Regions from separate parts of the Homo sapiens genome. Here region 2 is linked to region 1. Evidence: promoter capture Hi-C in 16 types of primary human blood cells and fetal thymus (Javierre and others, 2016). All regions are on one chromosome and are shown on one strand. The core of a region is centred on a gene start or on the middle of the fragment in contact, and the rest is flanking DNA. Distances in the headings are between cores, read along the strand shown. Region 1 holds the start of DENND1A (DENN domain containing 1A). Region 2 holds the start of STRBP (spermatid perinuclear RNA binding protein).

Region 1 (7,920 bases), core at 1,655-4,154:
TTTTTTGAGACGGAGTTTTGCTCTGTCGCCCAGGCTGGAGTGCAGTGGCATGATCTCGGCTCACTGCAAAATCCGCCTCCTGGGTTCACGCCATTCTCCTGCCTCAGGCTCCCATGTAGCTGGGACTACAGGTGCCCACCACCACGCCCAGCTAATTTTTGGTATTTTTTTTTAGTACAGATGGGGTTTCACCATGTTAGCCAGGATGGTCTCCATCTCCTGACCTCATGATCTGCCCGCCTCAGCCTCCCAAAGTCCTGGGATTACAGGCATGAGCCACCATGCCCGGCCTTTGTTTTTCCTTTGAGACAGTCTTGCTCTGTTGCCCAGGCTGGAGTGCAGTGGCGTGATCTCGGCTCACTACAACTTCTGCCTTCTGGGTTCAAGCGATTCTCCTGCCTCAGCCTCTTGAGTAGCTGGGACCACAGGCGCCTGCCACCACACCCGGCTAAATTTTTTCTATTTTTTAGTAGAGATGGGTTTTCACCATGTTGGTGGTCAGGCTGGTCTTGAACTCCTGGCCTCAAGTGATCCACTCGCCTTGGCCTCCCAAAGTGCTGGGATTACAGGTGTGAGCCACCATGCCCAGCCACTGGTTGCCTTATTAATTTTAATAATAAAAGCCAAACGGTGCTAAGTGTTTTGTATATAATAGTTGCTTTTAATTTTTGAGTACTTAATATGTGATAATCACTGTTTAAATACTTTATAAATGTCACTAACTCACTTAATCCTCGTGTCAACTCACTAAAATAGGTCTATTATTATCACCATTTCCATTTTACAGACAGAGAACCTGAGACACACAGAGAAGGAATAATTCACCCAAGGCCATATATTTAGTAAGAGGTAGAGCTGAGATTTAAACCCTGGCAGTCTGGTTCTAGAGCCTGTGCTCTTTGCTCCTATGTTACACTCGCTCTTATGATGGAAGCTTCTCATCACTCTCTCTGCCCATTTTACGGGGGAGGAAACTAAAACATACACTTGTCTAATCATTTGCATAAAATCTGCCAGTCAATGCTGAAGCCAGAATTAGAAGCCACGTTCCTAACTCCCAGTCCAGTGCTCTCTCCTCAGACCACCCTGCTGTCTCTGAGGCCACCTGAGCAGACACATAATCCCCACCTTCTACCTCCCTCTCCAACACACACACACACACACACACACACACACACACACACACACACCCCACCCAGCAGGCACCCAGACATATTTGTGGCCAGGATGGCTACAACCTCCTTTGAAAAGCAGCCAGCTTTGCCCTCCACCAATAACTTTGTTTTATTTATAGTCTCCTGCTCAGAGCTTTTGAACTGGCTCCCATTCCAGGGAAGATCTTGATAGCAACTGTTCCTTGGAGAAGTTTCATAGGTGAATAAACACCACAGAGCTCCTGCCTGTCTAGCAGAGCTTTGCTCCTGGGGGTGTTTACAAGTCGGTATTGGTGTCTGGGTGCATAAGACTTTAAATTCAAAATGACAGTTTGGACATTTTCACTTTTTTTTTGGTTTTCATTTTAAAAAGTTTACCCTTTGACTTCAACAACCTAAAGGCAGAGGCAAAAGGGAGAAACTATCTTTATTCAGAAGGTGACTCCAACAGAAGAAGTCTTCTACGACTTATCTTCTGGCTTTCTTTCCTCCCATCCTGGCCGGGAGCTAGGACGCAGGACCAGTTACGTAGAGGCTATGGGGTGGGGGTAGGGTGGGGAGGCACTCCATGCATTTATAAGAACTAAAATGGCAGAAGTGATGAATGGCATTTCGGGACAGAAAATTGGAAAAAAAAAAAAAAAAAGGAAAAAAAGCCTAATATTAAAAATGTCTTTGGACTTGTGGCCAAAGGTGCCACCTTAAAGCATGACTATGTCACAGGTGTCTGGAATGATTCAGTCTGGACACTAATCTTGGCTTCTTCACTCGTTGCTAGTTATGTGACCTTGGGAATGTGGCTCAGTTTCCTCTTTGTAAATTAGGGAGATGAACACAGGATTATTGTGAGGATTGGCACTAATGATGTACGGAAATACTGTGTCTGATGCAGAAAGGGCACTCACCCGCTCATTAAAGGGTGGCTAATGGTAGCTGTGATTATTGCTTCCTTTATGATCCCTCTGGCCCTAGAGGGGATGAAATTGAGGTGTTCATGGAAGTGAATCCCAAGGGGGAGCAGGGGTAGGTAGCAGGCTGGTGATCTCGGCTCTCAAATCCTTTCATTTGCATTGAGTTAATCTCTATCAGGGACTGTTGTGTTAACAGGAGGCTTCGATGTTGGAGTTCCCAAAACGGCTGATAAAGGGAGGCAGAGGTCCTCAGCGGGAGGGCAGAGCTGAGCCACCACGTGGGTCCACGAAGCCCCCAGGTGGCTTTCCTGTAGGTATGTGGGGTCTCCTTCAAGCTCTAAGGGGAAAGGAAGAGGAAAGGCCTTCAGATGGGGAAGTGGACGGTGTGATGGAGAAGAGGTTCTGCACGGAACTTACTGGAAGGTGCGGGATGTTAAAGGGAAAACGTGTTTTCATGGAGGCCTGGGCGGGGGATTAGCTCTCCGTTAGAGAGGCTGGGTGGGAGGCCTCCAATGGGAGGATTGGTGGCGGTTTCATCGGGAGGGCTTGGGGTCTCCATGAGAGGATTAGGGTCTCTTCAGGGCGGCTGTGAGTGGAGGTTTCCAGCGGGGCGCAGTGGGGTGCAGATGTGTAAGGGCCTGCAACGGAACGCCAGAGTCCTCCGGGGCCCGCGCCCTGGGAGACGTGCGGGTGACCGCGCTCCCGCCCCGCCCCCACCGGCCACGGCCCCGCCCCCGCGAGCGGACTACACTTCCCAGCAGCCCCAGCGGGCAGCGGCGGCGGCAGCGCGGGCGGGAGGGGCGGTGGTGAGAGGCGGAGGGGGCGGCGCGCGCCGGGCACGCGCGCCGGCGACCATGGCGTTCGCCGGGCTGGAGCGAGTACATTAACCCCTGGAGGCGGCGGCGGCGGCGAGGGAGCGAGCCTCGAGCGGGCGGGCCCCAGCCTGAGGGAAGGGAGGAAGGGGCGGGGAGAGCGCCAGAGGGAGGCCGGTCGGCCGCGGGCGGGCGGGCAGCGCAGCGCCGAGCGGGGCCCGCGGGCCCATGAGGAGGCCTGGGGACCATGGGCTCCAGGATCAAGTGAGTGCGGCCGGGCCGGGCGGAGCCGGGCCGGGCGCGGGGCGGCGAGGCCGGGCCAGGGCTGCAGGCCGCGGGCCGCGCGGGGGACTTGTTGCCGAGACCAGAGGGGCGCCCCGCGTGACGCCGGCACGCGGGGAGGGGGACGGTTGCTATGGCGATCCAGGGAGGCGCGGGGGCGGGGTGCGCGCGGGGTGGCAGGGCGCCGGGGGTCAGGTGTCCCCTCCTCACCTGGGGGTCGGAACAGCTGAGATTACAGGGCGGCCCCCTCCCCGGGTTTACGGAGAGCCCCTGAAAATGGTCCTTCAACTGTGGGGAAGGGGAGTGGGAAAGCCCCGGAAGCACCTCCCCATGTTTGGGCATGTTTGGGGCGCCCCTGAAAGTTGGCAGGTCCGGAGAGGTTGCAGCCTGGCCGCTTGAGGCCTGCGGCCCCCACAGAAGTCGCGTGAGGTTCTTAGAGGGAGGGGCCGCTCATGGTGTGGCCACCTAAGGTGTGGATGGCCGGGGAGGAAGGCCTGTCTCTCTATTTCCCCCCTCTTATCTGTGAAAATCTCCACGCAGCAAGGTCCAAAGGCTGTGAAGGAGGATACCTCTGTGTTGTAACCGAGCACCTGCTCTTGATAATCGTTGGAAAGGCTTTGTAACTCAATCTGGCGAATTCCCTCACTCATTCATTCACCTGGAGTTCCCGGTGGAGGGTTAGCTTTCCGGGGAAATTGTTGATACATGTAACTTCAGAATCCACTGAAACATTGTTGCTGTCCTTGTAGACTTAGAAGTTGACTTTGGAAAGTGCAACTCTTAAGCGGTCCAATTTGGGTGTGTGGCTTTCGACTCTATCTCCCCTCCCAGCCAGGTCCTCTTGTGGCCTCTCCCTTCCTCTGCCCCAGAACTGGAGATGTTTTATCTCTAATTACTAACAAATGTTCACTTTTTCCTCTGTGACTAATAGAATTGTTTAAGGGCATTAAAAAGCAAAGTTGACAGCATAGGCTTTTCTGTAAAACAACTTTCCTAGGACACTTTAAACCCTCTTACAAGAAAGTTTGTGGAATGTGTTTATTTCAGCATTTTGAGAATTGTACTAGGGAAGTTTGAAAGGAGAAGGGCCTTAAGGGTGAAACTAATAATTATTCAAACATTGCATCTCATGTCCAGGTGATGCCCGTGCAGTGTGACCCTTGCCCAGCCTTGCAGTCCCCCGTGTGGTTAGGCTTCTCATTTACAAAATATGTATGAGATGCGCTGCAGCAGCCTTGAGACATCTGCTGAATGAAACTAGAAAAGTTTGCTTATGGTAATGAAAATGGAAGAGTCGCATGAACACTCTGTTAAATCTTTATTTTTGTGGAAATGAGAAAAAAGTTAGAAGCATGCTCCAAACAAGAGCTTGAGAGGCTTGGGAGGTAAAAAGATGTCGTTTGTGAAACATTGGGATTAAAGAGGCACTCAAGTTTAGCTCCTGCTTCCAAGTAAGAGTTGTAAACTTGGATTTCAATAGCACTTAGAAACACTTTCCAGAAGCCAACTTAGAGTTGCAGAGTATGCGTGAGGACACTTACCCTTCTTGTTACAGAAAAGTTCAGAAACTTGCCTGACATGAAGCAGTGAGTGTCAGAACCAGTATTAAAATCCAGCAAGTAAAAGTTCAGATGGCTAGCCATCAAATCTCTCTGTTGCTCTCCAAGGTAGCAGGTTGACAAATACATTTCTCAAATGTGTTTTGTGGAACCCATCGCTAATTCTGAGCACTTGGGTTAGGGAATTTACTAAGGCATGGAATTGTATTAAGCGTGAAATGAGTATGAAGAATAGCCTTATTGATCTTGAAACTAGACTACTCTGTGATAAAAACTTAGGCTTGGGAAATATGTTAGCTTGTGGTGAAACCGAAAGAGAATATGAAGAGAGAAGTTATGAAAAGTAGTTGTGATTTATAGTGACTGTTGATTATGCAACTTCTGCCTGTAGCTAGGAATGGGGATGGACAGGAAATTACCCACTTAAGTGCTCCTCTAGTTGTTGGAGAAGACAGAGCTTTGGTTACTACTGGCTGGCTTTCCCTCCTGGCAGGGCATTCAAGATGTTCTCCTGGCTGTGGTGAAATCTAAGTGTGCAGGTTCCATTGAATAGGACAGTCTTGGAGGTAGGGACAAGGGGGAGGGGTTCCTTTTGTTTTCTCTTGCTTATCTCTGATGCAGCAAGTCAGTTGACTAGGTGGAATCAGGTCTAGGTTCAAATTCCAGCTCTTTTTAATGCTAATTATGAAACTTTACACAGACTGCCTTTTCAACCTCAGTTTCCCTGAAGGTAAAATGGGGAGGACTGTGTCCAGGTTGTAGGGTTATTATGAGCATTGAACACAGTATCAATGTAAATGTCAGGTCCATGTTAAAAACTCAGTAATTGTTAGGTTTTTTTCTTTTTTTTCACCTTCTGTATCAAAAGACTAAGAACATTACTGTATATTAGAAATGTCAGAGAAAGGTATGTTTAAGGTAATGGAGAAGAAAATTTTAATGACCAAGGAATTAGGCTGTTAACATGCAGAGTAGGGCTTAACATTGTCTCATTATTAAAAAATAAAAGTTGATTTAAAACAATATTGTGTGTAATTGTGAAGCTGGTGTCTGTTGTGTGATCAGTGGTAAAGCACGTGAGTTGCTAGGCACAGGTGTTGAGATTTCGTGTTTGATCAGACTTCTCTTTTAAGTTTAAGCCTGGTTGAACACAATCTCTGTCAGGTACCGTGGAAATCCTTAATGTGAACCATTTCATGAAACCCTCACTACTGTCCAGTGGTGGCGATGCTATTTATTAACCACATTTTTCAAATGAGAGAATGGGAGTTTATAGGCCTAAGATCAGATGCCATCCCCCAGACGCCTGCCTTGATGCCAGTTTCCTGTTGCCACCCCCACCCCCTCCTGTTCCAGTCTAGGCCAGGTGCCCTTCATCCGTGTTTCTGTGGCCCCTTGTGTTTATTGCAGTCACAATACTGAATCTCGTTTCTTGTCTGTGTCCCGTACCATGCTGGACATAAACTTCTTGAGAGGAAGGACTGTCTTATTTATCTTTGAGTTCCCTGTGTCAGACTCAATGCCTGGCACATGGTTGTTTGAGAAGAGTTCATGGAACGCATTTAAGAAATACATTAGGATCTATATTAAGATTCTAATTAAGACCGAGTTGAGTGTTTATCGAGTTAAAAAAAAAACCCTTGAGGAAGAAAAGTTTTATATTTTATAAATTTCTAAGGCAAATTATATGGTTTACGCAGGCCTTTTACTAGATTATTTAGTTCTTTTTTTTTTTTTTTTTTTTGAGATGGAGTTTTGCTCTTGTTGCCCAGGCTGGAGTGCAATGGCATGATCTTGGCTCATGGCAACCTCCAACCCCCGGGTTCAAGCGATTCTCCTGCCTCAGCTTCCCCAGTAGTTGGGATTACATGCATGAGACACCATGCCTGGCTAATTTTCTTTATTTGGTAGAGACGGGTTTCTCCCGTGTTGGTCAGGCTGGTCTTGAACTCCCAGCCTCAGGTGATCTGCCTGCCTTGGCCTCCCAAAGTGCTGGGATTACAGGTGTGATGTGAGCCACCGTGCCCAGCCTCATGTTTATTTTAATAAAGGAACATTGTCTTGCCTCAAATCAACATTTAATGGACAAAAAAAGAGAAGGTCACCAGTATGCAGGTAGCACCCTGGAAACCTAAATGTTACATCTGTATGGACATTTATCTAGAAGAATAAAAGGAGCAGTGGTAACTGACAATCTTCAACAGGTATTTTTAAATCTTATTTAGTGTTTGAATGATCCCAGTGGACTGGAATGTGGTTAATATGAAGCAATTTAACTGATAATGCAGACACACAGCAGGAAACTATGTGGCAGTTTAATATTGCTTGTGGTGACATCCTAGAAATTGCTTCCAGGCACCAAGTGCAGGAAGTGGGCTGTAAGTAATCGAAGGAAGTTTTCTAAGTGAGTTTGAAGAAACGTGACATTTATGGACTCAGAGAAAAGCATACTCTAAGACTTGAGGCATAGGAACAGGGCAGGGCAACTAATTTGGCCTTGTGGTGGTGATTATTCTACATTAGCCTGTATACCTGTCTTCTGTCCCTGTCAAACTGTGACCTCTGTGAGGTTAGTGACCAAGAAATTTATCCATTTATTCATCCATTTACCTACTGTAGAACTAAGAAGATTAAGCACATATTAAACAATAAATGTTAGCCATTATTATCATAATTAGTGGCAATACTGTGCCTGGCAGTGTGCTAAGTACTGGGGACACAAAGATGAACAAATATTTTTCTTTAAGGCTTTCTAAAGTAGTGGACACAAATGTAAAACAAAAACAATCCCTTCCAGACTCCCTCCCCACCAAAACAAAACAAAACAACAAAAAAAACAAAACACAAGTATAATACAGTATAAGTTAATTGCAATGGTGGAGATGCCGCTGGTGACGAATAGGTGAGTAAGTGAAGGAGAGACTGTCTTCTGGGGAGGAGGGAGGGTCAGGAAAGGAAGCCTTCACCAAGGGGATCATGTTTCAGCTGAGAGATAGGTAGGGGTGGTTAGCAGAGGGAGTAGAGGCAGTAGTGATGGTGGTGGTATCAGCAGAGGGAGCAGTACATATGAGGACGTGGCATATTAGGGAAATAAAAATATTACCATTTATTCCTGGCACTTAAATGCCAGGAATTGTGTTAGACATTGGGAATTACGATGGTGAATAATACAGATTCACTCCTCACGGTGCATACAGTCTTG
Region 2 (7,920 bases), core at 2,542-5,041, 660 kb after region 1:
AAATAGAGACAGAAAGTAGACTGGTGTTTGCTTGTGGCCAGGGTTGGAAATGGGATTAACACTTAATGAGCATGAGAGTCTTACGGGGGATCCATAAGGTATGCTAAATGTTCTTTTTTTTTTAGACAGAGTTTTCCTCTGTCACCAGGCTGGAGTGCAGTGCCATGATCTTGGCTCACTGTAACCTCTGCCTCCTGGGTTCAAGCCATTCTCCTGGCTCAGCCTCCTGAGTAGCTGGGATTACAGGTGTCCACCACCATGCCCAGCTAATTTTTGTATTTTTAGTAGAGACGGGGTTTCACCATGGTGGTCAGGATGGTCTCGATCTCCTGACCTCGTGATCTGCCCACCTTGGCCTCCCAAAGTGCTGAGCCACCGTGCCCGGCAAGGTATGCTAAATGTTCTGAAACTGACTTATGTTAATGTTGCACCACTTAGTGAAGTTACTGAAAATCATTGGATTGTACATTTTTGAAATGCATAATTTTATGTGTAAACTATACCTCAAGTAAATTGTTAAAAATCTATGTGTGATTACACGCCTGTAATCACAGCACTTTGGGAGGCCAAGGCGGGAGAATCACTTGAGACCAGGAGTTCGAGACCAGCCTGGCCCATCTCTACTAAAAATACAAAAAAAATTAGACGGGTGTGGAGGCACACGCCTGTAATCCCAGCTACTTGGGAGGCTGAGGCAGGAGAATGGCTTGAACCTGGGAGACTGAGGTTGCAGTGAGGCGAGATTGTGCCACTGCACTCCAGACTGGGTGACAGAGTGAGACTCTGTCTCAAAACAAAACAGGCTGGGCACGGTGGTTCACGCCTGTAATCTCAACACTTTGGGAGGCCGAGGCGGGCAGATCATTTGAAGTCAGGAGTTCAAGACTAGCCTGACCAACATGGTGAAACCTCATCTCTACTAAAATACAAAAATTAGCCAGGCATGGTGGCAGGCGCCTGTAATCTCAGCTACTCAGGAAGCTGAGGCAAGAGTATCACTTGAACCCAGGAGGCAGAGGTTACAGTGAGCCAAGATTGCGCCACTGCACTACAGCCTGGGCGACAGAGCAAGACCCCTCTCAAAAACAAAGCAAAACAAAAATCTGCATATGTATCCTTAAAAAATTAAAACAATGCAGAAATTTTTAAGTCCTCCATCCCCACACCCAGTTCTATCTTCCAGGCATAACCAATAGTGGTTGGTGTTTAATCCTTTCTGACGTTTTTCTATGGAGAATCCAACATACACATTACAGATAAATAATTTTCTGCAACTTTCTTTTTTCTTTGGACATGTAATGAGGGACATGAAAAATTAACAGTAACTACTCTGGAGTTGGGATTGGGGTAGTGGGAGTGGAGTCAAGGGCAGGAAGGGAGAGAGACATTAACTTTTTTTTTGAGACGGAGTTTCGCTCTTGTTGTCCAGGCTAGAGTGCAATCACGGGATCTCGGCTCATTGCAACCTCTGCCCCCCGGGTTCAAGCGATTCTCCTGCCTCAGCCTCCCGAGTAGCTAGGATTACAGGTACACACCAACACGTCCGGCTAATTTTCGTATTTTTAGTAGAGATGGGGTTTTGCCCCATTGGCCAGGCTGGTCTTGAACTCCTGACCTCAGGTGATCCACACGCCTCGGCCTCCCAAAAGTGCTAGGATTACCAGCGTGAGCCACTGCGTCTGGCCTAACTTTTTACTTTCTTTCCTTTTATATAATTTGCATGCTTTTGTCTCAGTGTTTGGAGTTACAAACCCAATAAAGATATTGAAACAAGAAATACTATTGAATCCTTAATGCCATGCTGTTCTTCTATTTTAAAAAAATTAAAAATGTAACCAAGTGCTGGACACCGTGCTGAGTGCCTTAGATATACGGTTGCAATGAATCCTTCTAACAACCCTACAATATGCAATACTATTAGTCTCACTTGGCAGATGAGTAAACTTAGACTAGAGAGATTGATTTTCCAAGATCACACAGCTAGTGTGCAGTGAATCTGGATCTTTACAGTGTGGCGCCTCTTCTCCCTCTGATACTTATGGGCATCCTACAAAACCCAGCTTTAATGATCTCATGTCATGTGCACGTGTAGTCTTCCCTAACACACTTAGGCAGGAAGATGACCCTGTCCTCAAGGGACTGAGAGACCAGGGAGGAGACAGACAGCTAAACAATTACAATCTAGTGCCATGAGAATACATATAGCTTAACAGGACTATGTTCAAGCCGAGGGAGCTTAGACCATGTGTCTGAGGCAGCCAAGGATCTCCAGAGAATATACTCTGAGCTGATTGATAAGGATACCCAGGATTTTTTTCAGGAGGGTCAAGGAAGGTGTGAGTGGTCAGAGGTGGGGAGAGGGTTTAGAAAGGGATTTGCGGCCTGGCATCTGTCTCAGGAGACTCAGGCTCCTACACACCTGGGCATACTCTGGAAACAACAGTACTGTAGTTCTGTGTGGCTGGAGGGTCACATTGGCCTGAAGGAGGGGCAAAGGGAAGGGCGTGCACCTTGAAGCTTAAGGCCAGATCACCAAGGCCTTTTCAGTTGAAATTGGGTTTTTTACACTTTATTCTGTGAATGAAACAGAGCTGTTAAAATATTTGAGCCTGGTGTGTTAGAAAGATGAAAAGGGGCCCCAAGGGGGCTGTTGTGGGGAGTCCCTCCTCAACCCCTGGGCTGTTCAAGGTCCTCTGTCTTGGCACTGAGTGGTCAGGTCGTTTCTGCTCCAGGCTGGGAATTGTCTTAGGGCAAAGACATTGTCTCATTTGCCAGTGCATCCCTGCAGCCTGCAAACCCCCCGGTATACAGCAGGGACTGTATACTGGCAAGCAGAATGCTGGGCACCAAGAACTTGAGGCCAGGGACTGTAGAATAGAAAGCGAACCTTTAATTCTTCCCCAGCGCCGCCCCTGGCACAGAGCTGGTAGGTGTTCAGCCAAAGTCTGACCCAACCATAAGGAGGTCAGAGAGGTCCTGGGCCCAAACTCAATCCCAGCGAGGTTCATTATAGGCAGGTGAAGGAGAGGTGATTGTAGCAGCTTCTGTTCAGCGACTGCTGTGTGCCAGGATTCACACCTATTGTCTTATGCCATCTCCCCAACAGCTCCTAAATTGGAATTATTGTCCCAGTTTTCCTGATGAGGAAACTGAGGCTCAGAACGGTTCTTGGTAACTTGGCCAAGGTCACACAGCCAGCAAGTAGGTGGGCGGTGGCACAAGTCAAAGCCTACTGGCCTGCCCCTCTACCTCGGGAGGCAGTGCGACGCCTACTCCATTTGTGTGGCTGCTGGGGTTGGGGGGCATCCCGCACTGGGGTGCGGGGCCCGGGGAAGGCGGCTAGCCGCCGCGGCTCGGCGCAGCTCCCAGGTTCGGAAGTTACGAAGTTTCCGTGCATTTCGCTAGCCTCCCAGCGCAGCTCGTCTCCGCTCCGCCGCAGTTACGCCGCTAGCGCAGCGGGGCTCAGGTGCTGCAGCGAGCGGGGGCCTGGGGCCGGGAGGAAGGCGGGGACGCAGTTTACGTAAGCGTCCGCTGGCAGGTGCATAAGGCCGCCGGCGGCGAGTGCTCCCTGCGCGCTCCCAGGTGCGCACTTGGCGCAGGCGGCGGCACAGCAAGGCGGCGGCGGGCGCTGGCCGGCGCTCTCAGGTGCGGCAGGACGCGCGTGGAGGGGGCGCGCGGCGAACGAGGGGGCGGGCTTTCCGTTCCCCAGCAGCCGCGGGGCCCGCCCCCTGGCCTGGCCAATGGGCGCGCTCGACGGTGTCACGTGCTCGCTGCCGCCGCTGCCGCCGCCGAAGCGGAGACCGGAGCCGCGAGCGCCACCAGGGCAGCAGCCGCCGCAGCCGCCGCCGCTGGGCAGAGGAGCCGGAGACGCGAGCGGGCGAGGTGGCGGCGGCGGCGGAGCGGGAGCGGGTACCGGGCGCGGGCAGAGCGCGGCGGCGCGGGTAGGCTCCGGCGGCGGGGCGGGCGCCTGCGCGGCGGGCCGTCCCGGGCGGGCGGCGGTTAAGGCGGCGGTTGAGGCGGTTGGCGGAGCCGGCCCGGGCCCCGCATTGTTTGTTGTGCGTCCTTAGCAGCGGCGGCGGCGGTGGCGGCCGAGGCGGAGAGCAGGGAGCAATCCCGGCCCCGCGGCTCCGGCATTGTGGCCGCCGCCGCCGCCGCTGCGGTGCCCCGGCCGCTTCGGGCAAGGGCAGCGGGCAGCCTTCCTCACCTTCGCGGGGACGGGGTCCCGGCCGATCAGGGGAGGGCGTGGGCAGGGTTGGGGGACGCGGTGCCGGGAGGTCTTCCGGGACGGAGGGCTCGGGGCTCGGGGCAGGTGTTGGAGGACATTGGGGGCAGGAGCTGGGGAGAGGCTTCGGGGGGCAGGCGGAAGGTGTGGGCAGATTTGGGGGTAAATAGGGGTGCAGAGGGATCCGGCCCAATGGAGGAGGAGAGCCTTCAGGCAGGTTTGGGGGGCCCCCTGGGCCAGGCGAGTGCGAGATGGAGGACATTCCGTCCGGTGGGGGGGGGCACTATATTGTGGGGTTCAAGAGGGAATGAGGGGGCTTTTGGGGAGGGCAGGGACGAGTGGGGTGGGAATGGAGGGAGAAGACTGGGGACTCGAGCAGGACTGGAAGGAGCGCTGCGTGCCAGGGGCAGGGAGTGGGGCGGGTATTAGGAAGGCCACCGGGACGCCCGTGAAGGGGAACGATGGAGGAGGGGGTCGGGGCAGGGGGAAGTGAGGGCAGGCAGGGAGCGCCTGAAAGGGAGGGAGGGGAGCAGGGTGCCTAGGCTTCTGGGGTGATAGGGAAATGAAGGGTAGGCCCAGGGGCTCCAGGAGACCTGCGAGGGGTGTGAGGGAGTGTGTGGCCAGGTGTATAGGGGAGCCTGCAGGGAGGCGGGAGGGGGTTGACATGTAAGGATAAAAAGGCAGGTATCTGGTGCTCAGGGAAGAGGAGTATGGGGTGGAAGGGGGAAGTTCATTGGGGCAGAGACTTAGTTTGAGGGCTTGCAGAGAGAGGTGGGGACAGTAGGAGAAGGGTGATGGGGATGGAGAGCAGGAGGTGTGTGGGGCATTTAAAGGATAGCGGGAGAAGTGCGTGAAATGGAGGGTGTTTATGCAGGAAGTATGGAAGAAGGTGGGATCAGCAAGAGAGGGAATTTTGAGGTAGGACGGAGGGTGAGGGGTTCTTGGCAAGTGTTGGAGGACGTTAGGGGCAGGAGCTGGGGGAGAGGGACAGGTGTGGGGTGGCGTGGAGTGTGTGAGGTGGAGGGCAAAAGGGGGTGGGGAAAGGGAAGTGTTCTTGGAGTGGCAGGTAAAGTGTGGGGACAAATGGAAGGAAAGATTTCTGAGGCGGGAAGTGTGGAGCGGTTGGGGAGGAGGAAGGTGGAGGGGAGGGTGAGAACGAAATCAGTAGAGGGGGACAACGGGATAGACTGGAGGGGAAGGTGGACAGGTCTGGAGTACAGTAGGTGGAGGGAGGGAAGCACAGGTTTGGGGCACTGAATTTTGTGCTGTAGGGAGAAGGGAGGTAGGGAGAAAGAAGGAAGGTAGACAGGCTATTTTGGGGTAGAGGATGTAGAAGAATGCTTAATACCTATAGTGGAGTAAGGGAAGGGCAAGGCAGAGGTGTATGTGGACATGTCTGTAACTAGAAAGGCATAGGTGATGGATTGGAGTGGTGGTGGTGGTGGTGGGGGAAATAGGATGCCCAGGTTTAGGGCAGGAAATGACTGCTTAAGTTGGAGAGAGCTAGGAACACAGGTTGCTTAAGAGAGTATGGAAGATCCAAGGAGTGGAAGTATGGGGAGAGATTGGAACACTTTGAGTTTGAGAGATGAAAGGGGCCAAGATTTTTAGGTCACTGAGAGTCTAAGGAAGATCAGGCAGAGTGCAGAAGTTGGAAAAATAACTAAATGGAGAGGATTAAATTCCATACTGAGAGAAACTGGAGATTGAGGGGTGGGGGGACCTGGATCCTGGAATGATGTTAATGGAAAGTGGAGGACATTAAACTCAGTGTCATATCTGAAAGTTCATACTCCTAGGGTCAGAGAGATCGTTGAGCCTGCTTTTAATTCCAGAACCCAGTAAATGAGGAAGGGGGAAGGGGTAAGGGAGAGCTGAGTGCACATCCCCAAATTTGGGAGAGGTGTGTAGTGGGTATCATCCTAGCATATTGGTTTGACGAGTGGACAGAAGGGCCACACAGGGTCACGAGGAGCGCACCAAGAGTGAATGGAAATGGGATTGCAGCAGGTGCAGGGCAGATGTCTTTGTGAAACTGGAAGAGACCAGGCCCAGTGGCCAGTAGCATTCAAGGGCTATGCATAAGAGAGGAAGAAAGGGATACCTTGGTGCAGTGTCTCAGATACCCTGGTGCTTTCTGGGTAATGGGTCAGTATTCAGGCAGCATGGGGTGATGTAATATCTGAGTCCCATGCTATAGGCAGACAGAAGTAATGTACACCTAGCTCCTAAAAGTGGCAGAATTGGAGCTTTCTGACTCTTAACACTCTTTCAAGGCGTGAATAACTGATCTGGATTGTTGACTTTTTCTCCCAAATGGTTCAGGTAAAATTTAGTTGGAGGCTTTTGGATTCTCTGGTATTTTGATTTGAGTTGGGAAGTGTAATGTTAGCTTTATTGAGGAAAGACACTTATGGGTTGGGCGGACATATGGCCTTCAGCTTGCCAAACACATGGGAAGTAACCTTTAGGGGTTTGAACACAGACATTTATTTCAGTGCAAGTCTCATTCACTGTTCTGTGGCTTGTGTTAGATTCTTAGGGGTTTGAAAGGATTAAGCAAACTACTTTGAGACTGCTTCAGTAAGCAAGGTTTCCTAGAATCTTGGAAAACGATTTCCCTTTTGACAGTTGAAAATTAAGTCTTGTCAGATTTTGCTAAGAAATAAATTTCATCATGTTGCAGAAATAACTTCAATTATCACTCTGTGGGCTTCACGTAATGTGTAGTGTGGTACCTAGTATGATTTCAAATAAAAGGTTCGCTTTGGTAGCTTGGGAGCTTTCTGGGTTGATTAGTTTTCTTCTTTTGTCGATTTAGGAAGTATCTTAATGCAGCCATTGTATGTTCGAATAATAAGTTTGAGTGGAAGTGGGAATCTTGCCTAAACATAATGAGGGCGGAGCAGAACACCAAATTTTAAGTAATCGGAATCCGTTAATATAAATATTAAAAAAAAAACCTGGAAGCAAATGATTCGTAAAATCCAAATTTGAAGTGTGTCATGGCAGCAAAAGAATGCTCTGAAGGCATTACTGTAAGATTTTATTTTTGGAGGGAAAGATTTTTAGAGTATAATGTCCCTTCGATTGAAACTCTGAGTATTTTGAGATTTGATATATGTATACAATATAATATAGGGAGCATGTCTGACCTCATTTGCTTTTTGGCAGAGAATTTGAGCAGTAGGATATAAGATGAATAGAGTGAGCTTTGAAAGTTCTCTCCAACATAGCCATTGTTTCCTCCTTATATTTCTTAAGTCCATTGTGTTCATTTTATTGACTTGGGGTGCGCACTACTTTCTTGCTCAGAATACTCAATTCTGGTATAGTGTTCGGATTATATGTATTGTTCAGTGAAATTCTATGAATTGGGACAATTTGTAGGCACTTTAGATATCCTAAGTTTACGAACCAAGGAAAGCAGGTTATTTAGGCTTTGTAGGCTGAATAATTGGGTTCTGGTTTTATTTTCGCTGGTGACTTGCTGGACAAGATATTTAATCCCTTTGTGCTGGTTTCTTCTCTAGAAATCTGACTCTATCCATCTCCCATGAGAATCAAGGTGGTTTATATAAAACAAGTTTAAGTCTTTCGGGAAGACTGGAGCTACGTAAATACGGGGATAGATGTTACTTAGTTTCTTTTTTCTCCCCTGTGGTTTTTAGACTGGTCAAATGTTAGTACTTCGTAAT

What was found. The method cuts DNA at HindIII sites, captures the fragments that hold promoters and counts their contacts. A CHiCAGO score of 5 or more calls a contact.
Region 2: the fragment with the promoter of STRBP here is called in contact with the fragment with the promoter of DENND1A in region 1 in 4 of 17 cell types (total CD8 T cells, M0 macrophages, activated CD4 T cells and 1 more); the score reaches 8.9 in total CD8 T cells.

The regions. Positions count from the first base shown.
Region 1 is chr9:123,925,110-123,933,029 of GRCh38, reverse strand. It overlaps DENND1A (DENN domain containing 1A), which reads left to right and starts at 2,904. Exons shown (of 24, transcript NM_001352964.2): 1 at 2,904-3,141. The coding sequence starts at 3,125. RefSeq lists a silencer at 2,678-3,167 and enhancers at 3,518-3,717, 3,347-4,032, 3,968-4,047, 5,098-5,147. The HindIII fragment of the contact is 11,751 bases long and covers 937-7,920 here.
Region 2 is chr9:123,264,457-123,272,376 of GRCh38, reverse strand. It overlaps STRBP (spermatid perinuclear RNA binding protein), which reads left to right and starts at 3,791. Exons shown (of 19, transcript NM_018387.5): 1 at 3,791-3,941. RefSeq lists silencers at 3,366-3,845, 4,016-4,065 and an enhancer at 3,465-3,965. The HindIII fragment of the contact is 5,570 bases long and covers 2,520-7,920 here.